2 separate regions of the Homo sapiens genome follow, and region 1 is linked to region 2. Evidence: promoter capture Hi-C in human tissues and cell types (Jung and others, 2019). All regions are on one chromosome and are shown on one strand. The core of a region is centred on a gene start or on the middle of the fragment in contact, and the rest is flanking DNA. Distances in the headings are between cores, read along the strand shown.

What was found. The method cuts DNA at HindIII sites, captures the fragments that hold promoters and counts their contacts. A contact is called where the count stands out against the background at its distance.
Region 1: a contact is called between a fragment that was not itself captured here and the fragment with the promoter of KCNS1 in region 2, in 2 of the 25 tissues and cell types used here (dorsolateral prefrontal cortex and spleen).

The regions. Positions count from the first base shown.
Region 1 is chr20:44,969,035-44,973,440 of GRCh38, forward strand. It overlaps STK4 (serine/threonine kinase 4), which reads left to right. Exons shown (of 11, transcript NM_006282.5): 2 at 3,044-3,124. Among named protein-coding and RNA genes, the nearest start is that of STK4, 4.7 kb to the left of the region's middle. The HindIII fragment of the contact is 4,792 bases long and covers 1-3,972 here.
Region 2 is chr20:45,099,585-45,103,902 of GRCh38, forward strand. KCNS1 (potassium voltage-gated channel modifier subfamily S member 1) reads right to left here and starts at 1,543. Exons shown (of 4, transcript NM_001322799.2): 1 at 1,337-1,543. The HindIII fragment of the contact is 6,202 bases long and covers 1-3,217 here.

The DNA.
Region 1 (4,406 bases), core at 327-2,826, 130 kb before region 2:
TCTTCCTTCTGTACCTGTCAGTGTCCTAATCTCCTCTTATAAGGACACCAGTCATACTGGATTAGGGCATGCCCATATGACCTCATTTTATCTTAATTACCTCTTTAAAGGCCTTGTCTCCAAATACAGTCACATTCTTAGGTGGTGGGTATTAGGACTTCAGCATATGAATTGGGGTAAGCTGGGGACACAGTTTTATTATGTAAGATTTTGTCCATTTATCATGTATAGTTGTTGTAATCCATATCAAATTCTGTGTGGAAAAAGAAATAGTTACACATAAAATGAACTTTATGGGAGTTCTGAAATGGGAGAAAGCTTTGAGAATTAGCCAGACCTGTAAGTGACTACTTCATAGACACCATTACTTGTGTTTGGAAAGATACAGGTGTCTTTTCAGAAATTCAGATGGCATGTGTTTCCAATAACCCCAGTGCAGGAAATGCCCTTTGTGTTCGTGAGTTTGACATTTGTGTGTGTGTGTGATTAAGTGATGACAGATTGGTGTCTCATATAGGAGTTAATAATTTTAAAAAATGAGTTGCCATTAGATTAATGTTATAGTGGAAGGCGTAGAGTGCATTCCTGGGATGCTGGCCATCCACATGGCCATCTGACTTAGGAGAGGAGCATCCACCAGTATTTGGTCCATGGATGCTCTGTTGATCAGGCTTGTTCATTTATGAGCAAGTGCTGAAACCGTCTGGAACCTGGGGAAGTCCCAGATAAGAGAACTGTATTATCAGAGTCAGGCTGTTTTGGTAATAGTGTTTTTTCTGTGAAGAGTCATGGTATAAAATATTATTATGAATCACTTATCAAAATATTTTTATAGAAATGTTGATAATTCAGTAATACTTCTTAGGTGAAATTCTGTTTTATTGTGATAATTCAAAGATTGCTGATGAAATTCGTGATTCCCATCATTACATTTGTGAATCCATTTCACAAATATATTTTGACCACCTCTTGGTTATCAGGCACCAGAGATGTAATAGCGCCTTAAGTTCAAGTTGTTTTTAATAGCCCCGGATCAAAAACAAACAAAAAAGCACTTAGATTGTTTCAAAGATGTATTCGAGCCGTCATATGCTAAATGACGAGTTAATGGGTGCAGCACACCAGCATGGCACATGTATACATATGTAACTAACCTGCACATTGTGCACATGTACCCTAAAACTTAAAGTATAATAATAATTAAAAAAAAAGAAAAAAAAAGTTTGTCAAAGTATTATCAGAGGTTTGCAGCTGTCTATCTCAAGGCAGTGGCAATTTCCTTTGTTATGCTGTGGTCCCTGAAGTAGTTGAAATAGTGACTTTTGCATTTTGTAAACCACAGAGAGTCAACACTTCAAAGAAACATACTTGATCTTCCTTTGTATAAGCTGTTTATACAACTTTGATTATACTTGAGAAGTGAGGTATTGTCCAATGTTTATACAATTACAATTCAGGACTTTACCAAAAAAACCCTGGCATATGAGATGTTCGTTCTGACTTCTGAGTTTATAGAAGTTTCAGTTCTGAAGTTTAAGAGGAGTTTCACTTCATCCCTTTTCATTTTGAAGGTAGGAGTTTTTATGATGTCATTGGTATTTAATTTTTAGGACCTTTTGATTTTCAAAGGTCACTGTGATCATTTTGTTCTGTTGATATCAAGTTAAGGCAGTTTTGACTTGGAGCAGTTCTCCATTTCTCTAGTTTATAGTCCTTGATATTCATAAACTATAAGATTGTCCTTCTGAGATCAGTGTTTATTGGTAGATACACTTGATGTGGTCAGGGTTTTTGTTGGTTTGTTTTATTTTTTGTCTTCTAATTTTAATCTGTTTTATTTAGGAAGGTACACATTTGTGTGTGTGTGTGTGTGTGTGTATGTGTGTGTATTTAAGTCTTTTGTTGTAATAATTGATATTATCCAGCTAGTCTAAACCTTTTTTTTTCTACAAAGAGGTCTCCAGTGTGACTACTTCCATATTTCACCGTTTCCTCAGCTCTCTATTCTTTGTTGTTCTTTGTAGTTTCAGGAAGCCATTGTGTAGACTACACACACACACACACACACACACACACACACACACACACACATATTCCTTGGCAAGTTCCTTCTTTAAGCTCATTAGTAATTTTCAGAGATCTCAGAGTTTTAAAAAAATGTTAATTTATAACCTCCCATGTTTGTTATGATTGTCTAGCATAGTCAGAAATCTGAATTATCTGGAAATTGTGAGCAGCCAAGTACCTTTGATTTTTGGGACTAGTCAAAGGTATGTATCTACTCATAGGAAGGTCTTTGTGAGAATATCTGAAACTCACAGCTGCCTAGTGATTTTTCACTTTTGATCATATCTAAATGTACACTTTCCACTTTCTGTTTCTGTGATACCTACAGAATTTATGTGTTTTGACAAACTTACAAAAAACTTGCTAATGGAAGAGCAAAGGTTTCCCGTGTCTTCCTTAGTCTGCAGTCCAATTCATAGTTATGTTTCAATTCATAGTTACCTTACATTAAACACCTTTTCTGAAGAGATAATTACATCATTTTAATTCATGAAATCTCAAGATTTAAATAGATTTTGAAGGATACATCGAATGCTTGAATCTACAGCATTTCAGCCACATGACTTTTTTTTTTTTTTTTTTTTTTTTTGAGACAGTCTCTCTCTGTCACCCAAGCTTGAGCGTAGTGGCGCAATTTCGGTTCACTGCAAACTCTGCCTCCTGGGTTCACGCCATTCTTATGCTTCAGCGTCCTGAGTAGCTGGGATTACAGGCATGCGTTACCACGCCCAGCTAATTTTTTTGTATTTTTAGTGGAGACGGGGTTTCACCATGTTAGCCAGGATGGTCTCGATCTCCTGATCTCGTGATCTGCCTGTATCGGCCTCCCAAGAAACCTTGTTTCTTAAAACAGTCTTAACTAGTGAAGTCTGTATAGAGAAGTTCCTGAGATGCTAATTATAAAAAAAAGATATATTTTATGTTCTAGTTCCTAGCAAATAAAATGTATTTTGTGTTTATATTTCTTTATTCACAGGCAGCTGAAAAAGTTGGATGAAGATAGTTTAACCAAACAACCAGAAGAAGTATTTGATGTCTTAGAGAAACTTGGAGAAGGGTGAGTGTAAAGAAACTATAGGTAGGTCATTGGGTCCCAGTCTTTTTCCTGCCCCAGAAGAAGCAGAAGGATATGAACCTTTCAGCATTGTTCTAGGTGGGGTGGAAGGTAAATTTACAGCTTGTGATGTCCTTCTTCGCTTTACTCCAATCCCTATTATAGACAGATTTAGTGATTCCTGGTCTTTTTAACACGAAGAATATCTATTGTTTTCTCTTTTGTAGGATCTGTATGATTTTATCTACTTAACAGATAGCACTAATTAGATTAAAATTCTATAAGAAACTTTTTAATTTGCTGTTCATAATTTCTGATTGGTATGCAATAACTGTTTCAATGAAAATCAATGTAATTTAGTATTTTAATATTTGCACCTTTGTGAAATATAGTAAATAAATTAAGCACTATCACCACCTTCACAGCTACTTAGGAGATCCACAATCCTGGGTTGGGAGCCAGTGGATTTCCTGAAACACAGATTTGTTAATGCGTTTATAAAATACTGATGAAATGATATTAGTAATGTGCAGTGACCATCATTGACTTTCATGATACAATTAAGTTTACATAATTTTTATACTTTTATATATCATTTTAATTCAATCCTGTGTATTTATTCCTTCTTCTGTAATGACCAGGAAATTAAAATGTTAATGACACCATTTCTTAAGTTTTTCTTGTTAATTTTTGAATAGGCGATACAATCATATGATTCAAAATTTAAAAAAATATTAAGACGCATACAATAAAAAAAAAAAAAAACTGCCTCCTACCTCTCTCTGTCTCTTAGCCACCCAGAATCACCAAGGGTAGCGGCTTCTTGTGTGTCTTTCAGAGACAGGCTATGTGTGTGCGAGCGCACACTCGTGTTTGTGTGTGTGTGTGTCTGTATTTTTAATCCCTTGGGAGTATTTCTGGATCAAGGGAAGACCTGACATACTAACTTGTAAAAACAACTACTGACTGATGACTATATGCTCTTTAAAATAATTTCCTTTATGTCATTAGATTATTTTTTGGGTTTAGTATTTTTTATGTTAGGAGACAGATTTACAACGTTAAACCCAATCCTGGATTACATGAAATGGTTTTTTTATGATTTACCTCCTTGTAAAAAACATGAGTCATCGTCTTTTTGTAAGTTGGAAAAATACTCTTTGGAATCCAGCAAGAAATCAAGCAGAGAAGGGAAGTAAAAATGACACACCAGCTGTGCTGTGAAAAGACAAGTCCAAGATGAATCTGAAGACTGCCAGTTGACTGGCATCATTAAAGGTATGGG
Region 2 (4,318 bases), core at 293-2,792:
TCACTGGTGTCACTATCTTCTGGAGTCAGGCAAACCTGGGTTTATCTCCACCCCTGACGCACCTGGGGCCTTGAGGAAGCTATTTGTCCTCCAGGTCTCAATTTCCTGCACAACGTAGATAATAGCACCTACCTCCAGGGATGACTGGAGGATTAAGGTAGATTATAGAAAGTGCTCAGCCTTAGTGGATACTCAGGAAGGATTTAGGTTCTTCCACTACCCACTGACTCCTGACTCTGCTGGAATTGGGGGCTAGTGACACCTCCTCACCACTGGCAATCTCATTTGCACTGTGGGTTCAGTAATGCCTAGACTAGGGATTAAGTGTGTGTAAAGCACCTGGGCTTGGCATTAAATGGATTTGGGGTTCCACCCTTAGCTCTATCACTTGTGTGACCTCAGGCCAGTCTCCTTCCCACTCTGGGCTTTAGCTCTTTTACCTCTAGAATGGGGATAATGTTGCTTTGGATGCATCATTATTGTGGTATATGTCAAAGCCCTGGGAAAACAGTAGATGCTCAATAAATGTTAATCCTGTGTACTTCCCTGTGGTCAGACCTGAGTCTACCACTTACTAGCTGCTGTCCTTGAGTGCATTCGTCGCCCTCTCTGGGCTTGTTTCCCTGTCTGTGGAACCGGGTAGCATCATACTTTCCAGGAGAGGCTCAGAGAATTAAATGATGCAAGGTGTTTATCGGCAGCATGGTCCCTGGCACATAATCAATGCACAATAAACGTGTGATGTAGCTCCGCTCCCACCTCCACTTGGATCTCCACCTGCATTTGGCATCAAAAAATGAAATTTCTAATCCAGTTCCATCACCCATTAGAAGCATAATATTGGGCAAATCCCTTCATCCATCAGGAGCTCACTTTCCTGCTCTATGAAACAGGATAATTAATTCAACAAACATTTTCTGACAAGAACCTGAATATCAGTAAGAAAGACCAAGTGACTTGTTCAAAATCACCCAGCTAGTCCATGGCACAGCTAAGGTTGGAGACCAGGTTTTTTTATTTCATTCTCTCTCCACACACTTATTTTGAGCACCTCCTATCTGCTAGTCACTCCTCTGGGCTCCATGCACACCTCACTCGGTTTAATCCCTACACCAACCCTGCCAGGGAGGTTTTCTAATCCCATTTTACAGATGAGCAAACTGTACCAGCCAGGGTCTCCAAAGCGCGGCCACCCCACACTGCTTCCTCCTTGGCGGGGGGTGGGGGGTCTCTTAGAGGGGGTAAGAGCACCAGGAGCCCCAGGCAGCCCCGCCTCCCACTCTGGCTGCCCGGGACCGTCCCGGAGCCACGTCCCTCCCCAAAGGAGGCCCCTTACCTGTGGTGGCACCTCCCGGGCGCCTCGCGTGTCTGTCCCAAAGCCACCGAGGCTGGGAGCCGCTGGCTATACTCGGTCTCGCCTCTGCCCCGCCGGCCCCGCCGAGCCTCCTGCTGCAGGCGGCCCCGCTGCCCTCTCCTTCCTTCTTCCTTGCCTAGTCCCCCGCGGCTGAAGGCCGCATCGATCGCTGCCGGAGGAGGGAGTGAGGCCGCTGGCGGCCGGAGGCGGCGGTTTCTATTCCTGACTCGGCTGGGGGGTGGTGGTGTCTGGAGACTGGGCCTACCTGCAGGGGCATCCTCCGGAGTTACGGGCCGGGAAGGAGGGGTCATTTAGGGCGTGAGGATTCCCCGTAGAGAGGGATTTCAGCAGAAGCTTCTCTGGCAAAGGAACAACAGTAATCATGATTTACTTAATTGAGTGTTTAGTATGTGCCAGGGTACTTCAGCTGCTGCAAGTGATTGATCTCAGTTATTCCTGGCACACACACTTGACAGGGCCAGGATCTTATGTCGCCCATTTTAGGGGTGAGCTCCAGTCATTTTCTCAGACCGTGGGCATCTGAGTTAGGGAGCTGTAGAAGGTGGCCTCATCTCCCTTGGAGCCCCAGGTTCTTCCTAGGTGAGTTGTGAAGCTTGAAACGATCATTTTACCCCTGAGGCGCAGTGTCCTTACCTGCCCACGGGTTCCTGATTCCCACCTGCCAAGTGGGTTGTGAGGGCAGAGAACATGTGCCAAAGAGCTTTGTAGAGGTTGTGAAATCCCCACACATGTACCTGTTGTGTGGCTGCTGTGTGCCTGGTTGGGGAGAGGCTCCTGGAGACTAGGGCCTGGATATGAGCCTTTGCACATATTGTTATTAATAATAATGATAATTACCAACGTTTATTGAGTACTTACCTTGGGTCAAGCACAGACCTCAATCTCACTCAAACTGCAAATTTATCTGTGGGGTAAGTGCTACTATTATTCCTATCTCACAGATAAGAACTGCTTTGAGAGGTGTGGTGACTTGCCGGAGGTCCCATGGCTGACTTCTGAGTCCTCTAGGCCAGCACAGTCCAACACCTATAATGTGAGCCACATATATAATTTTATTTTATTTTATTTTTGATTTTTTGAGATAGAGTCTCACTCACTCTGTTGCAGGCTGGAGTGCAGTGGCACAATCTTGGCTCACTGCAACCTCCGCCTCCTGGGTTCAAGCGATTCTCCTGCCTCAGCCTCCTGAGTAGCTGGGATTACAGGCATGCACCACCATGCCCAGCTAATTTTTGTATTTTTAGTACAGAAGGGGTTTCACCATGTTGGCCAGGCTGGTCTTGAACTCCTGGCCTCAAATGATCCACCTGCCTTGGCCTCACAAAATGCTGAGATTACAGGCATGAGCCACCGCGTCCGGCCCACATATGTCCTTTTACATTTCTGATTGCAACATTTTAAAGAAGTAAAAAACAGGCGAAATTACAGTTACCCCTTAAACAGTGGGGGTTAGGGAAACCACTCCTCCATGCCTAGAAAATTAGAATATAACTTTTGACTCCCCTGAAACTTAACTAGTAATAACTTACTGTTCGCCAGAAACCTTACCAATAATATAAACAGTCGATTGACACATAAATAGTATCTACATATATCTTAGGCATTCACGACATATCTAACTTATTCTTAAGGCTTTTGATATTTCTAGTCTACATGGTTCATCTGTAAGTTTTTTCAAATTGTCACAAATCTCCAAAAATTTTCCAATGTATTTATTGGAAAAAAATCTGCATGTAAGTGGACACTAGCAGTTCAAACTCGTGTTGTTTCAGGATCAACTGTATTTTTAGTGATATATTTTATTAAATCTAAAATATTATGATTTCAACATTGGAATCAGTAAAGAAATTATTGAGATATTTTACATTTTCTTTTTTTTGTACTAAGTCTCTAAAATCCAGTACTAATTTTTCTTATTGCTACATAACAAATTACCACAATTTAGTAGCTTAAAACAATACAAATTTATGATCTCATGGTTTCTGTAGGTCAGAAGTCTGGGCATGGCCTGGCTGGACCCTCAGGGTCTCACCAGGTTGAAGCCAAGGTGTTGGCCAGGGTTGAGGTTCTCATGTGAGCTTCAGAGTTTTCTTCCAAGCTCACAGATTGTTGGCAGAATTCATTTCCTTGTGGTTATAGGACTGAGGTCTCTCTTTTCCTGTTAGCTGTCTCCGAGGGATCAATCTCAGATTCTAGAAGCTGCCCCATAGGCAGTTCATAGCATGAATGCTTGCTTTCTTTCAGGGACATCAGAGTGCTGAATTCCTCTCCTGTAACCAGCCAGAGAAAAATCTCTGGCTTTAAAACTCTCACCTGATTAGTCCAGGCCCACCCAGGGCACTCTCCCTTCTGCCATATAATATACATTCACGGGTTCCACCTACACTTAAAGAGGAGGAGATTATACAGGGATGAGGATCATTGAGGAGGGGTCATCTGAATTCTGCCTCCCATATATAAATCTAGTGTACTAATTTATTTTATTTTTTATTTTTTGAGAGAGATTTTTTGAGATTTATCTATAGCATATCTCAGTTTGGACTAGTCACATTTTATGTGCTCGGTAGCCACACATGGCTCGTGGCTGCCATATTAGACAGCACAGCCCTAGGCTGTGCCACTTTAGTTTTTCCCTCGAAAGAAGAAGTTAGAGCAGGAAGCTGCTTAGTGAGCATCTTGCCCAATTCCCTCATTTGACCAACAGGGAAACTGAGGCAGATTTGCCGAGAAGCAGGTCTTCTGTTTCCTGGCCTAAGAGTTTGTCTGCAGCCTTTGCTACCCCTCAGGACTCAGGAGTTTTCCCTGGAGCTGCAGAGACGGTTTCCAAAATTGAGAGAAAAGACAGACCTATTTCCCAAAGGCAGAAGAGAATGAAACCAGGATCTGGTTTCATCCCCAGATTACACAGTGAGAGGTAAATGAAGTTTTGGTGGAATCTGTGAG